Linked DNA regions of Homo sapiens: region 1 is linked to region 2. Evidence: promoter capture Hi-C in 16 types of primary human blood cells and fetal thymus (Javierre and others, 2016). All regions are on one chromosome and are shown on one strand. The core of a region is centred on a gene start or on the middle of the fragment in contact, and the rest is flanking DNA. Distances in the headings are between cores, read along the strand shown. Region 1 overlaps ZBTB25 (zinc finger and BTB domain containing 25). Region 2 holds the start of MTHFD1 (methylenetetrahydrofolate dehydrogenase, cyclohydrolase and formyltetrahydrofolate synthetase 1).

Region 1 (3,102 bases), core at 554-3,053, 110 kb before region 2:
TGTTTCAGCCGGGAAGGGAATGAGAGAATCGCCTGTGGCTGATTTATTGGCGCCTGTGGTTGCCCAGAGAGGCCAAGCAGGACTTTCAGCTGCCCTCTATGCCTTACAAAGTGGAGCTGTGAGCTTCCACCCTATCTCCTGAGGGGAATGTGAAGGAGCCAGGCTGTCTAGCTGGGGAGGAGGTGCCTTGGCCGTAAAATATCCTGGCCAGGGCTGTGCTGGGAAGTGTTGCATAATGTCCTCCCCACCACTGAACCAAAGTGATTTATTTGCTATGGTCCGTAGGTGGTGCCTGACCAACTTGTCCATTTTAGCAATAACAGGGCCAGAAAAGAGTTGGGGGTTTTATATTATTGCAGGGTTTTTCCTTGTTTTAAAAAAGCAGTGCAGGTGCTCTTATCTTGATAAGTTATAAAGTGCTTCTTTCTGCACCACTTCCTGTGCCCCTTTTCTGTGTATTTATTCCAAATAGCATGTGAACTTCAGTCTTTTAAGAAGAGAAAGCTAAGAAAATATTGCTCCAGTTTATTAGCACAGGCTATGGAGACAGACCTGGCTTTTTATCTCCACTTTATACCATTTGCTGATTGTGTGTCCTAAGCTTAGGATTTTTCCTCATTTGTAAAATGGAAATGAAAATAATACATTAGTCATCACAGTGACGATTTTAAGAGATAGTGTATATAGAGCACTTAGCACAAGGCCTCGCATATAGTATTTATTATAATAATAGGTTTTGAAAATAACCAGAATAGTATTCTCCCTAAAAAGGAAAGATATTGCTACTTGAACCTGCTTAGGGATAGAGGAGGAAGAAGAAAGTGTTTGTAACAAACATCAGTTTCAGGATTATTGATTAAATTTTTTTATACTTCTGGGGTTTTTTTTGTTTGTTTGTTTTTTGAGACAGAGTCTACCTCTGTCACCCAGGCTGGAGTGCAGTGGTGTAATTTCAGCTCACTGCAGCCTCCGCCTCCTGCATTCAAGCGATTCTCTGGCTTCAGCCTCCCGAGTAGCTGGGATTACAGGCGCCTGCCACCACACCTGGCTAATTTTTGTATTTTTAGTAGAGACAGGGTTTCGCCATGTTGGCCAGGCGGGTCTTGAACTCCTGACCTCAAGTGATCCGCCCACCTTGGCCTCCCAAAGTGCTGGGATTATAGGTGTGAGCCACTGTGCCTGGTCCATGTTTTCTTTATCCATTTGACTATCCATGGACATTTGAGTTTTTCCCCCTTATTGGCAATTCTTCTGCCTCAGCCTCCCAAGTAGCTGGGATTACAGACGTCTGCCACCACGCCCAACTAATTTTTGTATTTTTAGTAGAGACGGTTTCACCATATTGGCCAGGCTGGTCTTGAACTCTGACCTCAGGTGATCCACCCTCCTCGGCCTCCTAAAGTGCTGGGATTATAGGCATTTATTTACCGTTCTGCTTTCCCTTTGCTAGCAGGAATTTTCTTTCTCTCTCTCTCTCTTTTTTTTTTTTTTTTTTTTTTGCTTTATTGGGAGAAAAAGTGCTTAGAGTGTTCAGTTATTTTTTATATTTTTCTAATTCATTTCTTCTCTGGTTACAAATCAGTCATGCATGGATGTTTTATTTTTTCTGAAATCTCCAAGCACTTTAAGCAAAGGTTTTTATTAGCCCACTTGAGTAGTGTGTTCATGGGAGTATACTTCCATTGCGAAAGAAGTATTGGTTTACTTGTATCCAGAAGTTTTAGTTACTCTTGCCTGTACTGTATTCTAGGTCTGTACTAGCATTATAATTTTCCATCTTTCTCCTGTCCTTTGAGTACCTTATTTTTTCTTTTAGAAATTTGGTTTGTCTTTAATGGACTGAGAGGAATCTTTTCCTTTCTTTCTCCGGGTTCTGATTTTTTTTAAAGGTCTATTAACAATTTGTGCTTACTGTTGTTAGTATTCTTGTGTGCTTGGCTTTATCAGGCATCCTACAATGTAATGTTGGTTAGATGGGAATTAGAGGTGCTTGGAGGTTGGCTATGTCTGCCAACAGGCAGGAGGCCCCAAACTAACGTTTCCCAGTTCCATTAAAGGTTTCTAGAGCATAACTACTCTTCCTGTTTCATCTACCCCCTCCATACCCTCTTTGCTAACATTCTCAGTAGATCTTAATAAGCAGATGTCTGGAATTACAGCAGATTTTACCTCAAACAGTATTTTCAGATTTAGAATTTCTGTATCATTTTTAGGTGTTATGAAATCCAATCTAGGTGTAATGGAGTAAGAGAGTAAATATTTCTTTTTCCTAAATACTATTTGAAAAGAAGTCTGAAAATAGTGTGTTCCTCCACCCCCCCACCCATGCCCATCCTGCCAGTTTAGGAGCACTTTTGATTCTTTTTTTTCTTTTTCTTTTTTTTTTTGAGATGGAGTTTCACTCTTGTTGCCCAGACTGGAGTGCAATGACACAATCTCAGCTCACCACAACCTCTGCCTCCTGGGTTCAAGCGATTCTCCCGCCTCAGCCTCCCGAGTAGCCGGGATTATAGGTATGTGCCACCACACCTGGCTAATTTTGTATTTTTAGTAGAGACGGGGTTTCTTCATGTTGGTCAGGCTGGTCTCGAACTCCCGACCTCAGGTAATCCACCTGCCTCGGCCTCCCAAAGTGCTGGGAGCGAGCCACCATGCCTGGCCATGGAGCACTTTTGTTTCTTAATCTGGCCAATATTTTAAGGTTACAATTAGAATTACAGTTGTTTATATTTGTTCATTTAATGTAGTCAACATAATTTCCATACTTTGAACACTCTTACGGAATTGTTTATTTATAGAGACTAGTATAAAGTTGTTCTATCTTACTTAGTTTGAACTAATCCAGAGTTATACAATCTAGAAAGTAAAGAAAGTTTTTATTGTCTCTTAAATATCAATGTAATTGTAGAGTGTGAAATAATTTCTTGGGTTTCCTTGGTCCCGTGTTCTTCTGAGGCAGTGGTTCTTAACTGAGCAGTCACGTTAGAATCACCTGGGAAGCTTTTTAAAAAAAGAATCTGGGCTGGGCGCGGTGGCTCACGCCTGTAATCACAGCACTTTGGGAGGCCGAGGCGGGTGGATCATGAGGTCAGGAAATCGAGA
Region 2 (3,445 bases), core at 684-3,183:
TAATTACTGATTATTAATACAACATATATCGAATACTTATTATGTGCCAGGAAGAATTATAAATGATCATCTGTTAGGAACCCATTTAATTCTACTAACATCCCAATGACCTAGACATTACTTTTACTTAACATTTGAGGAAACTTTGGCACAGAAAGGTTAATTAATTTGCTTAAAACCACACAAGTAGTAAGGCAGGAAACAGGGTTTCCAGGTGTTTAGGATATAGACAAAAATAAGACAATACATGTATTTGCCCTTATGGAGTTGATAAACATATTTAATTTGCTCTCCAATTAACGAAAGTATATTCAGTGAGCACCTATTCTCAGTACTGGCCCAGATGCATTATTATTGTACTAAATTATCTGCACTATTATTATGCACTAAATTATCTCTTCACAATCAGTCTTTCTAAAAGGAAGATTTTTATATTAAAACAAAAAGCCACTGGAAAAGGAAGTAAGTTTGAATACAAGCAAACAAAAACAGAAAGTAAAGCAGAAATACAGTTTAGCAAGCCACATGTTGAAAAGCACTAAGCAGTAAGTATTGTGATTTCTTTTTTTTTTTTTCTTAGACGGAGTTTCGCTCTTGTTGCCCAGGCTGGAGTGCAATGGCGCATCTCAGCTCACTGCAACCTCTGCCCCCCAGGTTCAAGTGATTCTCCTGCCTCAGCCTCCCAAGTAGCTGGGATTACAGATGCCTGCCACCACACTCGGCTAATTTTTTGTATTTTTAGTAGAGATGGGGTTTCACCATTTTGGATAGGCTGGTCTTGAACTCCAGACCTCAGGTGATCCACCCACCTCGGCCTCCCAAAGTGCTGGGATTACAGGCATGAGCCACTGGGCCCGGACTTTTCACCACCGATGACTTTGTAATTCACTCAAAAACCTATTACAAAGTTAGGAGTTACAGGACAATTACAATTTAGTAACTGCTGTGGCTGGCAACAGTTACTTACATAACGGGTGATGTGAAAGGTCCCAAGAGCAAACTCAGTAAGGTCACACAGAATATATCTTTCCCTCCTTCATCTACTAGAGGGAATATATTTTTCCCTCTTCCTTCTACTCTCATTTTTCCTCACCAGTCACCTCCCAGACAAAAAGCAGCCAGTGTTACTTCCTGGGAGTAAAGCTGGCAACGATACCCACTAATTAAGCATTCAGATGTCCCGCAAGGGTAGAACAGGCAGAGGTCAAGTGGAATGCAGAATATTCTCAGGACTCAGGAGCCAAATTACGTTTCAAGTAACTCTAGGACCAGGGCAGAGAGATGGCTGTTAGAGAGAAGCACGAGATTGAAGAGAAAGGAAAAATGTATTAGATTTCACTTAGCGTATGATAAGACTATGGTATAGTGGGAAAAGCTATGAGCTGGAAGGACCCTCTGTCATTATCAGCCTTGTAGTCTTGTCAAGCCTTGTCACCTCACTAGTCTCCATCTACTCACCTCCAAATTAACGGGAATTAAGTAGATTGGATTTCTGAGTTCTGACTAGGGGGGCTCCAGGAAGCCGCAACTACCCACTCTCCCGGCAGAAAGTCACCAGCAGCTGCGCGTTTGGGAGCATAGTCGGCACAGGACTTTTCCCCGAAGCACAGGAGCCAGCGGCTACAGCCACTAGGCAGTCCACTTGCAAACGCAGGTTGTGCCCGGGTTCTCTTTCTTTGGCTGCAGGTCTTCAGGTGTTATGGGCCTAACTCTTCCGCTACAAGTGTCCCTCCCGCAAAAAATGGGTCCGGGGGACCTGCACACCCTCAGAGCCCTCGTCCACAGCCCCACACTCAACAACAATGTCAGGTGCTTACGCGGAGATCTCCTTCCCGTTCAGGATTTCTGCTGGCGCCATGGCCTTTATTAGTCCGCTGCCCACGATGGACACCACCAATATCGAGGTTCCACTCCCTCCGCAGCCAAGCAGGACAACCCAACCCACGTGCTTAGGGACTGGCCAGGGGATCACACTACTGCGCCTGCGCCCCTGCCCGCTTCTCCCCCTGCAGACGCGGTGGCGCATGCGCAGTTCGGAAGGACCCGAGTCCCTTAACTAACCGAGAGCTAACAGGTCGGGGACTGCGGGACGGAAGAGGGAGGGGAAGATGAAGAAAATCGGTGATGAATGGCTGGCGGAAATGATTGGCGGAAAGAAAGAGCCAGTTCACAGTGCGCCTTTGTATTCGGCGGGAAACCCGGCCGAAGAGGGAGCTGGAAAGGACTCCGGAATCCGGCCGTAATTCCAGCCAATCAGGGAGTAGAGTTGCGGGGCGGGGTTGGGGCGGGGCAGTCTCGCGGGAGATAGTTTCGCGGGTTCGGGAGGCGAGTCTCCGGTTTCCGCCCAGTCTCTGGGGACGCGGTGGCGGGGTCTGAATCGCCTGGCTTCCAGGGAGTTTTGGGCGGGTCCCCGCACGGGAGCGTGGCAGGCGCTGGACTCGACAGCAGATGTGGAACTGGAGAGCTTGGCGCGCCCTCATACTTTGTCACACACCTACGCCACCAGACTGGGGTCGGGCCCCTCCGCGTTCTGCTCTGGAGGGCCTGGGTCTGGGCCCAGCATAGCGCTTTTAGAATCTCCTCAGCTGAATCTGACGCTCAGCCGTAGGTGAAGCTTAGCCCGCTGTTTCAGGCCCCGCCGATCTGGAAGGAGTGTCAGAGCTGGAGCGCGCGTGGCCTCATCGGTGTTGGGGTCACCCCGGGGTTGCCAGGGCTCATGGAGGGTCGTAGTCTGGATTTTGTCACCCCCACGTCCCCGCCCCGCAGCAAGTCTGGGGTTGGAGAACTCACGCGGTCTTCGTAAGCTACATGCCAGTTGACCCTCGAGGAGGGATGCTCCCTCCCCTTAAGCGTCCACGCTGGAGAAGGAGTAAGATGGACAATTGCCTGGGGAGCCTGACAGGGCGGTGGCAGCTGGGATGCTGGAGAGGACTGGCCCCTTGTGTTACTGAGTCCAAGGAATATGCTTGCTCTGCTCTAGGAACCGCGTTCAGGTTACAGTCATCCCAGTAGAGTCCTGAAGATGCGTGGTTCAGGTCACTTAGGACTTGACCAGATACCGGGTTTCTTTTACAAGCCGTTTACTACTGGCAGAGCTCATCTAAAACTTTTTTTGTTTGTTTGTTTGAGACGGAGTCTCATTCTGTCGCCCAGGCTGGAGTGCAGTGGCACGATTTTGGCTCACTGCAACCTCCGCTTCCCGGGTTCAAGCAGTTCTCTGCCTCAGCCTCCCGAGTAGCTGGGATTACAGGCACCACCTAATTAGCCCGCCACCACGCCCGGCTAATTTTTGTATTTTTAGTAGAGACGGGGTTTCACCATCTTGGCTAGGCTGGTCTTGAACTCCTGACCTCGTGATCCACCCGCCTCGGCCTCCCAGAGTGCTGGGATTACAGGCGTGAGCCACCGCACCTGGCCTAAAACTGATTTTTTATTAATTTTGGGG

What was found. The method cuts DNA at HindIII sites, captures the fragments that hold promoters and counts their contacts. A CHiCAGO score of 5 or more calls a contact.
Region 1: a fragment that was not itself captured here is called in contact with the fragment with the promoter of MTHFD1 in region 2 in 1 of 17 cell types (fetal thymus); the score reaches 6.3 in fetal thymus.

What each region holds. Positions count from the first base shown.
Region 1 is chr14:64,498,852-64,501,953 of GRCh38, reverse strand. All of the region lies in intron 1 of ZBTB25 (zinc finger and BTB domain containing 25), which reads left to right. Among named protein-coding and RNA genes, the nearest start is that of ZBTB25, 3.4 kb to the left of the region's middle. The HindIII fragment of the contact is 2,399 bases long and covers 604-3,002 here.
Region 2 is chr14:64,386,841-64,390,285 of GRCh38, reverse strand. MTHFD1 (methylenetetrahydrofolate dehydrogenase, cyclohydrolase and formyltetrahydrofolate synthetase 1) reads right to left here and starts at 1,933. Exons shown (of 28, transcript NM_005956.4): 1 at 1,818-1,933. The coding sequence starts at 1,858. RefSeq lists enhancers at 2,081-2,170, 2,691-2,750, 2,771-2,870. The HindIII fragment of the contact is 3,471 bases long and covers 1-2,616 here.